Regions from separate parts of the Homo sapiens genome. Here region 2 is linked to region 1. The links are contacts of gene promoters, found by promoter capture Hi-C in blood cells and fetal thymus (Javierre and others, 2016). All regions are on one chromosome and are shown on one strand. The core of a region is centred on a gene start or on the middle of the fragment in contact, and the rest is flanking DNA. Distances in the headings are between cores, read along the strand shown. Region 1 holds the start of METTL13 (methyltransferase 13, eEF1A N-terminus and K55). Region 2 overlaps RABGAP1L (RAB GTPase activating protein 1 like).

Region 1 (4,808 bases), core at 751-3,250:
ACCTTGGCTGAGTCACATTTTCAGAAGGTGGAGACGCTACTGCCAGAGAAAGAGCGACATTGTAGAGTTGATGCTAGACTCTATCTTGAAACACCACATATACTTGCTAGTGAAAACCACATTCAGCTACAATACAGGTTATATGAGAATGGGCTTTGTGTTGCAGAAACAAATTAATCATAACTGTTCTTTTCTCTAAATCATGCACTTATTACTCAGGAATTAATAGGAAGTCAGAGAATCCAAATATAGAGTTACAGTTGAAATCCTAGGCCAGGAATAACCCTATTTCCTCACTCTACTCATGCCTTTGGCTCCTTTAGACAATAAAGTACACTTTGTGAGGATTCAAATCTTACTTCCATCACGGATTCCATCTCATGATATTTGGCTATCTTCTGAAGCCGAACTTAAAATTCAGATTGTTGTCTCCCTCTCCAGGGAGCAATCTCCCATTCAAACTTAGAAATTCTGATATTGCCATCTTTGGAAAAGCATGGTACAAAGAGATGTGCATATGCTCTGGAGCCAGACAGGCCTGAGTTTAAATCCCCACATGACCACCTGGACATGATCTTGGGCAAAAAAAAAAAAAAAAGTGGCTCTCGGGGCCTCAGTTTCCTCATCTGTAAAATGTATGCATGGCCACTCACCTGAATTTATGATGAGAATTCAAAGATTGCACATGCACATACACAGCACCCAACATAAGGCTTGGCACATAAAGCTTCCCCACAAATGTTAAGTTTTCTACCTTCCTCCTTCCCTACCTCCAGTACAATCTCACCTATACCAAACCCATTGTTGTACTTATCACGTTTCACTTCTGGAACATGTGCAGGGTTTACGTCTTAATGCTCTTATAGTTTAAGGACTGAGCAGTGCCTGAAACTTGGGGCGCACTCAACGACTATTTGAAAAACAAATTCATACACAAAGTCACACCTGCTGCAGGTTGCACAGGAATGCACAGTGACAGAAGAACATACTTTCAAGATGGGAAGTCACTCTTCAAGTAGGGTTATTAATCCAAGAATGAGCTGGGGTGGGAGGTCTATTATCTGAAAACCTTTAAAGAAATGTTTTTTTTTTTAGACAGGGTCTCACTCTGTCACCCAGGCTGGAGTGCAGTGGCGTGATCATGGCTCACTGCAGCCTCGACCTCCTGGGCTCAAGCGATCCTCCCGCCTAAGCCTCCCGAGTAGCTGGAAATACAGATGCGCGCCACCACGCCCGGCTAATTTTTTCATTTTTTGTAGAGACGAGGTCTCATGTTCCCCAGGCTGGTCTTTAACTCCAGGGCTCAAGCGATCCTCCCACCTCGGTCTCCCAAAGTGTTCGGATTACAGGTGTGAGCCACTGCGCCCGGCCTGAAAGAATATTCTAGTTTGTCTTTTAGCAGGAACAATGCAGGAAATGCTGAAATATGCGTCCAACTAGGGTCCTCCCGCCTGTCACTGTCCACCAAGTGCAAGATTCCTGTTACCAGTTCCCACCTTCCGGAGCACGTACGAAGGGCTACCAACCCGCGCTCCTCACCTTTTCCCTGGGCTTGATATATTTATGTAGCACCCCGCACAGTTCCAGGTAGGTTCCATACCACTCGAAAGCTTTCTTTCCTCGCTGCTGGAAGAACTTCTCCCAATAGTCAACGGAGCCAAACTCCCTGGAACTTTTAGGTAAGAGGTTCATGTTCCTACTGCCGAAGCTGCGTTTTCAAGACTCCCCTATTCCCTGTGAGATACCATTTGAGGAGCTTGCCCACCACACGCAGGCTCCGGGACACTGCAGTGGGAATTCTTTCCACGGAAAAACAGCCACATTGATTTGTTCCCCCACTCCAAACCCCAGGAATGACCCTTACACGACAAACGCACGCATGGACCACTGAATCTCACACACGCTTGCCCCCTCCTCCGCGCCTGCTGTTCCTTCCCCACGTGAAGAGCCCCTCACACTTTTCCCGAACTAGATTTCCGAGCCCATAACCATATCCGGGTGCGAAGCCTCGTGATTCGTCGGCCGGCCCAGCCCAACTCAGCTAGTCATTGGTCGCTGCTTTGCGTTTCTATCACCTCATTGGCTGCGACGTGCTTGCCTTTCTCCGGAGGCTCCGTCGCAGACACCTAAACGCTTTTTTGACCTGAGGCCGGCCGACCATTCACGGAACGGGGCGGGACCGCGGGCCGGAGTTGTGGCGGAAGAGGCCGGGCCTCTGTGAGAACTAGGTCACGTCCGGGTGAGGAGTGAGCGCGGCTGTGCTGTGGTTGGGCCCTCCCTCCAGGCGGGGCGGAGAGCGCGCTTGCTTCCTGGGCTCGGCCTCCGCTTTGTCTTGGAGCCGGCTTAATCACTGACTCCGATCGTGCGCCGCACAAGGGCGGAGCGCGGCAGGCGGGAGCGTACTGGTAGAGGAGGACGAAAAGAAAAACCTATACAGATAGGAGAGAAGTGAGGCAGGAAATGAGTAAAGCCAGTCCGTCGTAAAAACGCTGCACATTCTAACCTTGTCAGCTTCTGCGCACCAGCACCCCCCGCCTTATTTTGCCACCTCTGCACCAAAATATAGGATTCTGCTATCAAAAGTGTAATAACATGAAAACTCCCTCTTCCTTCTCTCCGCAAAGCACAGCATGCAAAACTAGCCTTTCATTTTGATAATTGGCCTCCTTGTGTTATTCTGACGTTATTTATAACTGCTTATTTTATGTGTTTGATAAACATACTGTACTTTCACATGCTCATGCTAATACCCTGAGGAAGCTTCTGTGAAGGGCACTTTTTTTTCAGACAGGGTCTGTCTCTGTCGCCCAGACTGGAGTGCAGTGGTGCAGTCATGGCTCACTGCAGTCTCCACTTTCCAGGGGTCAGGGGATCCTCCCACCTCAGCCTCCCAAGTAGCACGCCACTACCGCTGGCTAATTTTTTTTTTTTTTTTGTAGAAATGGGGTTTCGCCATGTTGTCCGGGCTGTTCTCAAACTCCTGAGCTCAAATGATCATCTCGCCTCACCCTACCAAAGTGCTGGGATGACTGGTGTGAGCCACTATGCTGGCAGGCACTATTTGAAAATGACCAAATATGTGTATCACTGGGCCTTTCATACCATGATAAATTGCAGGAGGAATATACTGATTGCGGAGAGCAGATAGGCTTGGAATTGAGCATGTGTGCTGTGGGCTGTTACATACTACACTACCACAGGTAGATAGCCAGGTAGACTGTTAATAGTTAAGTAGGTTAGATTGGACTTAAACATTGGTTTAAAAAAGTGATTCTCAAACTGGCATGCGTCAGAATCACCTGGAGGACTTGTTAAAACACAGAATTCCCCAGTCCAACCCCTGTTCTAAGTCATTAGTTCAGTGGTGAGGCCCAAGGATTTGTGTTTCTAACAAGTTCCCACGATGCTGATGATGTTGGTCCCGGAACCACACTTTTTTGAGAACCACTGTTTTAAAATACAATTAAGTCAAAATGGATATGGTTCAAAATTCGCAATTTTCAATGATAAATCTAAAAGCTTTCTACAAGTAACATAAGAGAAAATCTGTTTTCATGATCCCTTTGCTGAGTTCACATTGTTCCTCTCTACCCAAGATAAAGAGAAGGAGTCCTTGAAGTAGTAACTTCAGCTACTACACCATGCAAGGTTCTGAATGGGTGAAATGTGAGTTCTTTAGGAAGCACTTATTGAGAGCGGAGGACATCACTTGTACTGAATGTGCTACACGATACCAAAGAAGCAAAACAGCATAGCAGCCAGGCGCGGTGGCTCACGCCTGTAATCCTACCACTTTGGTAGGCCGAGGCGGGCGGATCACTTGAGATCAGGAGTTTGAGATCAGCCTGGCCAACATGGTGAAACCATGTCTCTAATAAAAATACAAAAATTAGCCGAGCGTGGTTGTGTGTGCCTGTGGTCCCAGCTACTCAGGAGGCTGAGGCAGGAGAATCGCTTGAACCCGGGAGGCGGAGGTTGCAGTGAGCCAAGAGATTGCGCCACCGCACTCCATCCTGGCCAACAGAAGGAGACTCCCTCTCAAAAACGACAACAACAAAAACAAACAAAAACCATAGCAGCTGCTCTGTGCCCCCCAAAGCTTTATTCAATTCAGTTCAACAAATATTTTAATTGTCTAATAGGGGCCAATCACTGTGGTAGAAGCTAAGGATGCAGTGGTAAGCATGGTAATCACGTGGAGGGCACATTAAACAATTACAAAAATAGTCTGTAATGGGAGTTATAAGTGCTGTGAAGGAGAACCATACCATTCCATGATAGTATATCTTTGTGACCTCTACTGATCTAAGGGGTAACCAGAGAAGGCTTCCCTGAGGAAGGGACAAAAATACTATATAATCTGACTGCTTAATATCAGCATGACATAGGTGAAAAACCAAAAAGCATGGTTCACCTTCTGGAACCTTTACAAGAATTTCTGGCTGCTGCTTTTCCCTCTGTCTCCATTGTCTGTTCTGTTAAGGTCATGTTATTAGAAAAGACGAAGTTATTTCTATCACAGCCCAGGCTCCAGCCCCGTATTTGATGCTCTAAAAGTATGATTACTGTTTGCAGTGTTTTTCAGACCAAAAGGGTAAGTAACTTACGTTTTTCCATCTGTGCCTGCCTCCCTTCTGTGAGCCTAAAAAAGTGATAACAACCAGAACATTTTAAGCTTAAACATACTAGAGATTTTCTAAAATTGTAAGATTAACACAGAAATATTTTAGATATATTGTAACATTAGACCCTAGCATTAACCTTTCAAAATACTTATTTGAAGCTTATTTCTCTCAAGATTTAACTAT
Region 2 (4,808 bases), core at 833-3,332, 3.2 Mb before region 1:
GAACTATGAAATTCACAACACAAAAGAGCATCTTTAATTTAGCTGGCCATTTGATAAGGCAACTGCACAAGGCTTCTTGGAATCAAAGCGTAAAGTACCAGTAAAGCTAACAGCCTATACTAAATGATTTACAAAAACAAGCGCCAAGATAACATTTTCTAGCTATTACATTTTACAAAAAAAAAAAAAAAAAAATTAGCTTATCTAGACCACCATGTAGAGAATGTTAAAGCCAACACAGACACTTGGAATGCTGGGTTATGTTCCTTTTTGTTAAGAAAATAAATTTTGTAATGAAAGATGTCAGAACAACAATGAAAGATTTATGTAAGAAAAGTATTATCTGATGAGTATAACATAACAATCACATCAGTTTTATGGGCTGTAGAGAATATAAACACAGATAAAGGGGATTTCACTTTTTAGAACATAAAAGATCATTTTAGAGGAAAAGATCCACTGTGAGCAACTTGGTGCATCCTCCTGGGATGTAGATGGCTCTTATTTGATTCTTCTAAGGGTGTGTTACTTTTAATTGCAAAATATGGCACAGATGAGAATCATTCTGGCACTACAGAGTTTAAGATTCTTTGCAAATAATATGTTCAACAATGAGGCCAATGATTAATATCAACAAATGTTATTGTACATATCTAATAGTAGTTTGGTTGGTTTGAAAGGATCAGAGGCCTCCAAAATAGTTTATAAAATAAAAATAGTTTTGCTCTTATCAAATAATTTCCTGCAAGGACTATTTTTATAGGCATGTTAAATATAATTGAAAAAATATTTCCACTAATTTTTAAACAATAGCTTTACCTTTCCATGAGATAAGTATTTCTGTAAAGGTTTTATATTCAATCAAAAATGTTACAAATGCATTTGTATCTCTTTATGGGTACGAAGGACACATTTTCAGGGAACTACAGAAATCAGAAAAAGTTGCCCAGCATTAAACTAAGATGATGTGAGCCTGACCTCTATTTCCCATTTCAATACTATGTCCTTTAACAAAGTTACAGTATTGTTAGTGTTTCCTTAGCAAGTATATATCAACGTTAAATGAAATACTCTGTCCCTGGTTCTATATTCCACTCTATTCAGCACAATGGCTGAACCTGGGGCTTTTTAGGCGTCTCTGGTAAAGGCTCCCTAAGTCTGTAAGGTGCAATATCCACCTTTAACTTTATAATTGCCAGAAGTCACATCTGTGTCCATACTTTGGTGTACTTAGGAACTCACAAGTCCTATGTGGCATTCTTAAAAGGATCTGTTAGAATACCACAGCCCAAATGATCCTGACCTACACTTATTAAAATTTCAGTTCCTTTTACCTAGCGTATAATCTGAACAGCCCGTCTATTCCTGGCACTTCATTTCCAGATGTACCGAACAGAAAATGAAAGTAAACCAATGATCGCTGATTGGTTCTTTCCTTTGGACAGGATTAACACTTCCCTGGGAATCAGGCTCAGGAGGAAACCTGAGAGTGGTCATGCCTGGCCCCACAGTGTGCTTTATCTGAATAAATCCTGAAAACTTAAGATGTTTAGGTTTCAATTTTTTTTTTCCTGTGACAAAGATCTTCTTATCACTTCAACCTTGGAATAACAGATGTCTCCATTTTTATGTAAGATAAAAATAATTATGAATAATTCTAAATAAAAAAGCATTTAGTTCTGAATTACTTATTTCCAACTAAACATCAGGCAAACAAAATAATGTGTAATACTATGATGGATCTGAACATGGCCTTCCAGAAGCTGGAAAATAGGTATTCAACATAGAACAGGTCAGTTTAAATAGCATCCCTTTGAAAAGTGTCATACAAGAAAGAGTGAGAGCTACTGAAAAATTCTGGCTTGTTTTCTGGCCTCCTTGACTTTCCTTCAAAGGGACACCAGGAAGAATCCTCCCAGATTTCCATTGGTTTGAACATTGTGCTCTTGTGCTTGGGTAAGGCTGGAACTATGTGCTCTCCTTGGGTGGCTGGGTGACCGGTGCTGGCTGCAATGGCTGGGTGCCCGTGGCCGTTTTGATAGAGTTCAGGGTTTTGCTAAACCAAGAGTTTTTCGCAGCTTGGATTTCATTCATAAGGGCTCCTCTCTGATGTTCAAGTTCCTAATTAAAGCAAGAAAATCATCTGAGTTAAATAAATGTTTTCTCTTTGCCAATAAATAAATAAAAGTGTGCAGCTTTTTGGAGTCTCAAGGTATGTGCTGCCAATTTTCCTCCCACAAAACCCAGGAGAGATTGAATTGGCTTCTTAGTACAAGGATAAAGTTAAGAGCTAAAAGACTTATCAAAAATCTAGAATCTGTGCTTTCTTTAAACAGTGAAAGAAAAGCTCATTTTATTCTTTTTTTCCCTGCAAGTTAGGTCCAAATTTAGGTTTAGGTTGCAATCCGATATAACAGGTTTAAAAACCACAAATAAATGTAAACATATGGATGAATTTTTACTGATAGTAGAAGCATGAATGAATTCCAGTTCCAAAGAAATAGGCTTTGCCCTAAGAATGTCCAAGGTCAGAGCAGACACATGGTGGAAGCTGGCTGGTGTGGTGGAGGCTGGTGACATGGCAGCCATGGTGCTGGTAGGGATCACTGGGAAAATGAAATGAAGAAGAGTCCATCAGAAGCCAGGACTATTTCTAATTATATTATGCGCCAATATGGAGAAAGATAATGGGGAAAGAGGTTTGACAAAATGAGCTAAAGATAAAAAGAAGCTCTAAAGGAAAGAACGGGTGTCAGCCAATGTGTGACTCTCAGGGTAGACACAGCAGAGGGGGTTTGGTTTTTCATTTTCAGGATCAGCCACTGAAGTGACCACATTCTGTGAGAAAGGATGTAAGCAAAAAATCTCAGGGTAAAAAAAACAAGCATATGCTTAATTAAATTCCCATAAGATATAATTTTAATTATTAAAATTTCATTTAAAATTATATATTTGTTTATATCAGCGTTAAGAATACATGATATAAAATGTGATTATGCAGGACACATTAGCAGACAGAAAATGTATTCATCATACAATTCTGACCTAGATAGGTGTATTCTGAAGTACTAGAGTATCCTGGACCATTAATTGTTTATTCTTTCTTCTTGTTCTTTTATCAAATCACCAACCTGAATTTTACACTTGGCCTCCACCAACTGCAGTTTGGTTTGTGCCAGTTCCAGTTCCATCTCTCTCAGCTGCTTCTTAAGTGAGTCCTTCTCATCATCTGTTTCAATTCCCTGGTCCTCTCTGCCTGTGGCTGCTAGTTTCAAAGCACCCTCCTTGCTGAAAATGTCACTGCAGTGTTTGCATGCCATCATCTTACCCTAAAGTATCCAAAAGAGATAACCAACATCAAACTATTCCATAGGCTAAATCACCTTCTGAAACAATTTATGACTTTTTTAGATGCTGCTTATTGTCATAGATGCAGGCCCATTTCTGAAGGTTAATTATTTTTCTTGTGCTGCAATCAAAATCATTAGCCCGAACCCAACTATCCAAGACGGGTGCTCCTTTTTCCTGAAGTATCTCTAGAAATACCCTAGAAATAGAAGGTATTGTAGCATCTCTTTGAAATCTGTTCTAGAAATTTTATGCTATCATTATTCTTACTAGATGCCAAGCCCCACACCAAATGCTTTACTTGTAGTATTTCACTTAATCCTAGAGCAACTGTATAAGTAAGCACTATCATCATCCTCATTTCATAAAGAAACTCAGAGTTTAAAGAACTTGCCTGTAGTAGACTGAGGAAGGTCATCATGACTAACCTAAATCTACCCTTGCAACAAAGCACATGTCCTGTTGTTGAATTTTAAGCAAAGAGGACCCCTGTTGCTTAATAAAAGTAACTCCGGCCGGGCCTGGTGGCTCACGCCTGTAATCCCAGCACTTTGGGAGTCCAAGGCAGGCAGATCACAAGGTCAGGAGATTGAGACCAGCCTGGCTAACACGGTGAAACCTCGTCTCTACTAAAAATACAAAAAATTAGCCAGGCATGGTGGCACACGCCTATAGTCCCAGCTACTCGGGAGGCTGAGGCAGGAGAATCGCTTGAACCCGGGAGGCGGAGCTTGCAGTGAGCCGAGATCGCGCCACTGCACTCCAGCCTGGGCGAGAGAATGAGACTCCATCTCAAAAAATAAAAATAAAATAAAATAACTCTACCACATGCCCGCATTGCCAATCGGGCACACAGCACTAAACAACAGCAACTGTTTTCCAGACAATAGTACTGTTGTTTACTTATTTTCAAAAATAATTCAATAGAGATAAAAGATATTACATGCTATTTCTACTTTGATGCCCTACTGCTACAAGCTCAATGTGTCCATCACCGTGCCCATCCTCCTCTCTTCACACACACAAAAAGCAACTCTCCACCACACTTTTGTGCCACTGGGCATGTCTCCACCATTTGGGCCTGACGACTTTGGATCATCTTTTCATTAGCTCCTCTTTCATCCCATGTCCAGCTGACCATTAATTTCTTCCTCTTGGGCCAGGTGCAGTGGCTCATGCCTGTAATACCACAACTTTGGGAGGCTAAGGTGGGTGGATCACGAGGTCAAGAGAGCGAGACCATCCTGGCCAACATGGTGAAACCCCGTCTCTAGTAAAAATACAAAAATTAGCTGGGCATGGTGGCGGGCACCTATAGTCCCAGCTACTCAGGCGGCTGAGGCAGAAGAATGGCGTGAACCCGGGAGGCGGAGCTTGCAGTGTGCCGAGATCGCGCCACTGCACTCCAGCCTGGCGACAGAGCAAGACTCCGTCTCAAAAAAAAAAAAATTTCTTCCTCT

The links. The method cuts DNA at HindIII sites, captures the fragments that hold promoters and counts their contacts. A CHiCAGO score of 5 or more calls a contact.
Region 2: a fragment that was not itself captured here is called in contact with the fragment with the promoter of METTL13 in region 1 in 2 of 17 cell types (total CD4 T cells and non-activated CD4 T cells); the score reaches 7.6 in total CD4 T cells.

Annotation. Positions count from the first base shown.
Region 1 is chr1:171,778,852-171,783,659 of GRCh38, reverse strand. METTL13 (methyltransferase 13, eEF1A N-terminus and K55) reads right to left here and starts at 2,000. Exons shown (of 8, transcript NM_015935.5): 1 at 1,540-2,000. The coding sequence starts at 1,692. RefSeq lists enhancers at 1,654-2,187, 2,017-2,311. The HindIII fragment of the contact is 1,150 bases long and covers 1,613-2,762 here.
Region 2 is chr1:174,987,162-174,991,969 of GRCh38, reverse strand. It overlaps RABGAP1L (RAB GTPase activating protein 1 like), which reads right to left. Exons shown (of 26, transcript NM_001366446.1): 25 at 3,132-3,329; 26 at 1-2,121. The coding sequence ends at 1,969. Among named protein-coding and RNA genes, the nearest start is that of CACYBP, 10 kb to the left of the region's middle. The HindIII fragment of the contact is 8,943 bases long and covers 1-4,808 here.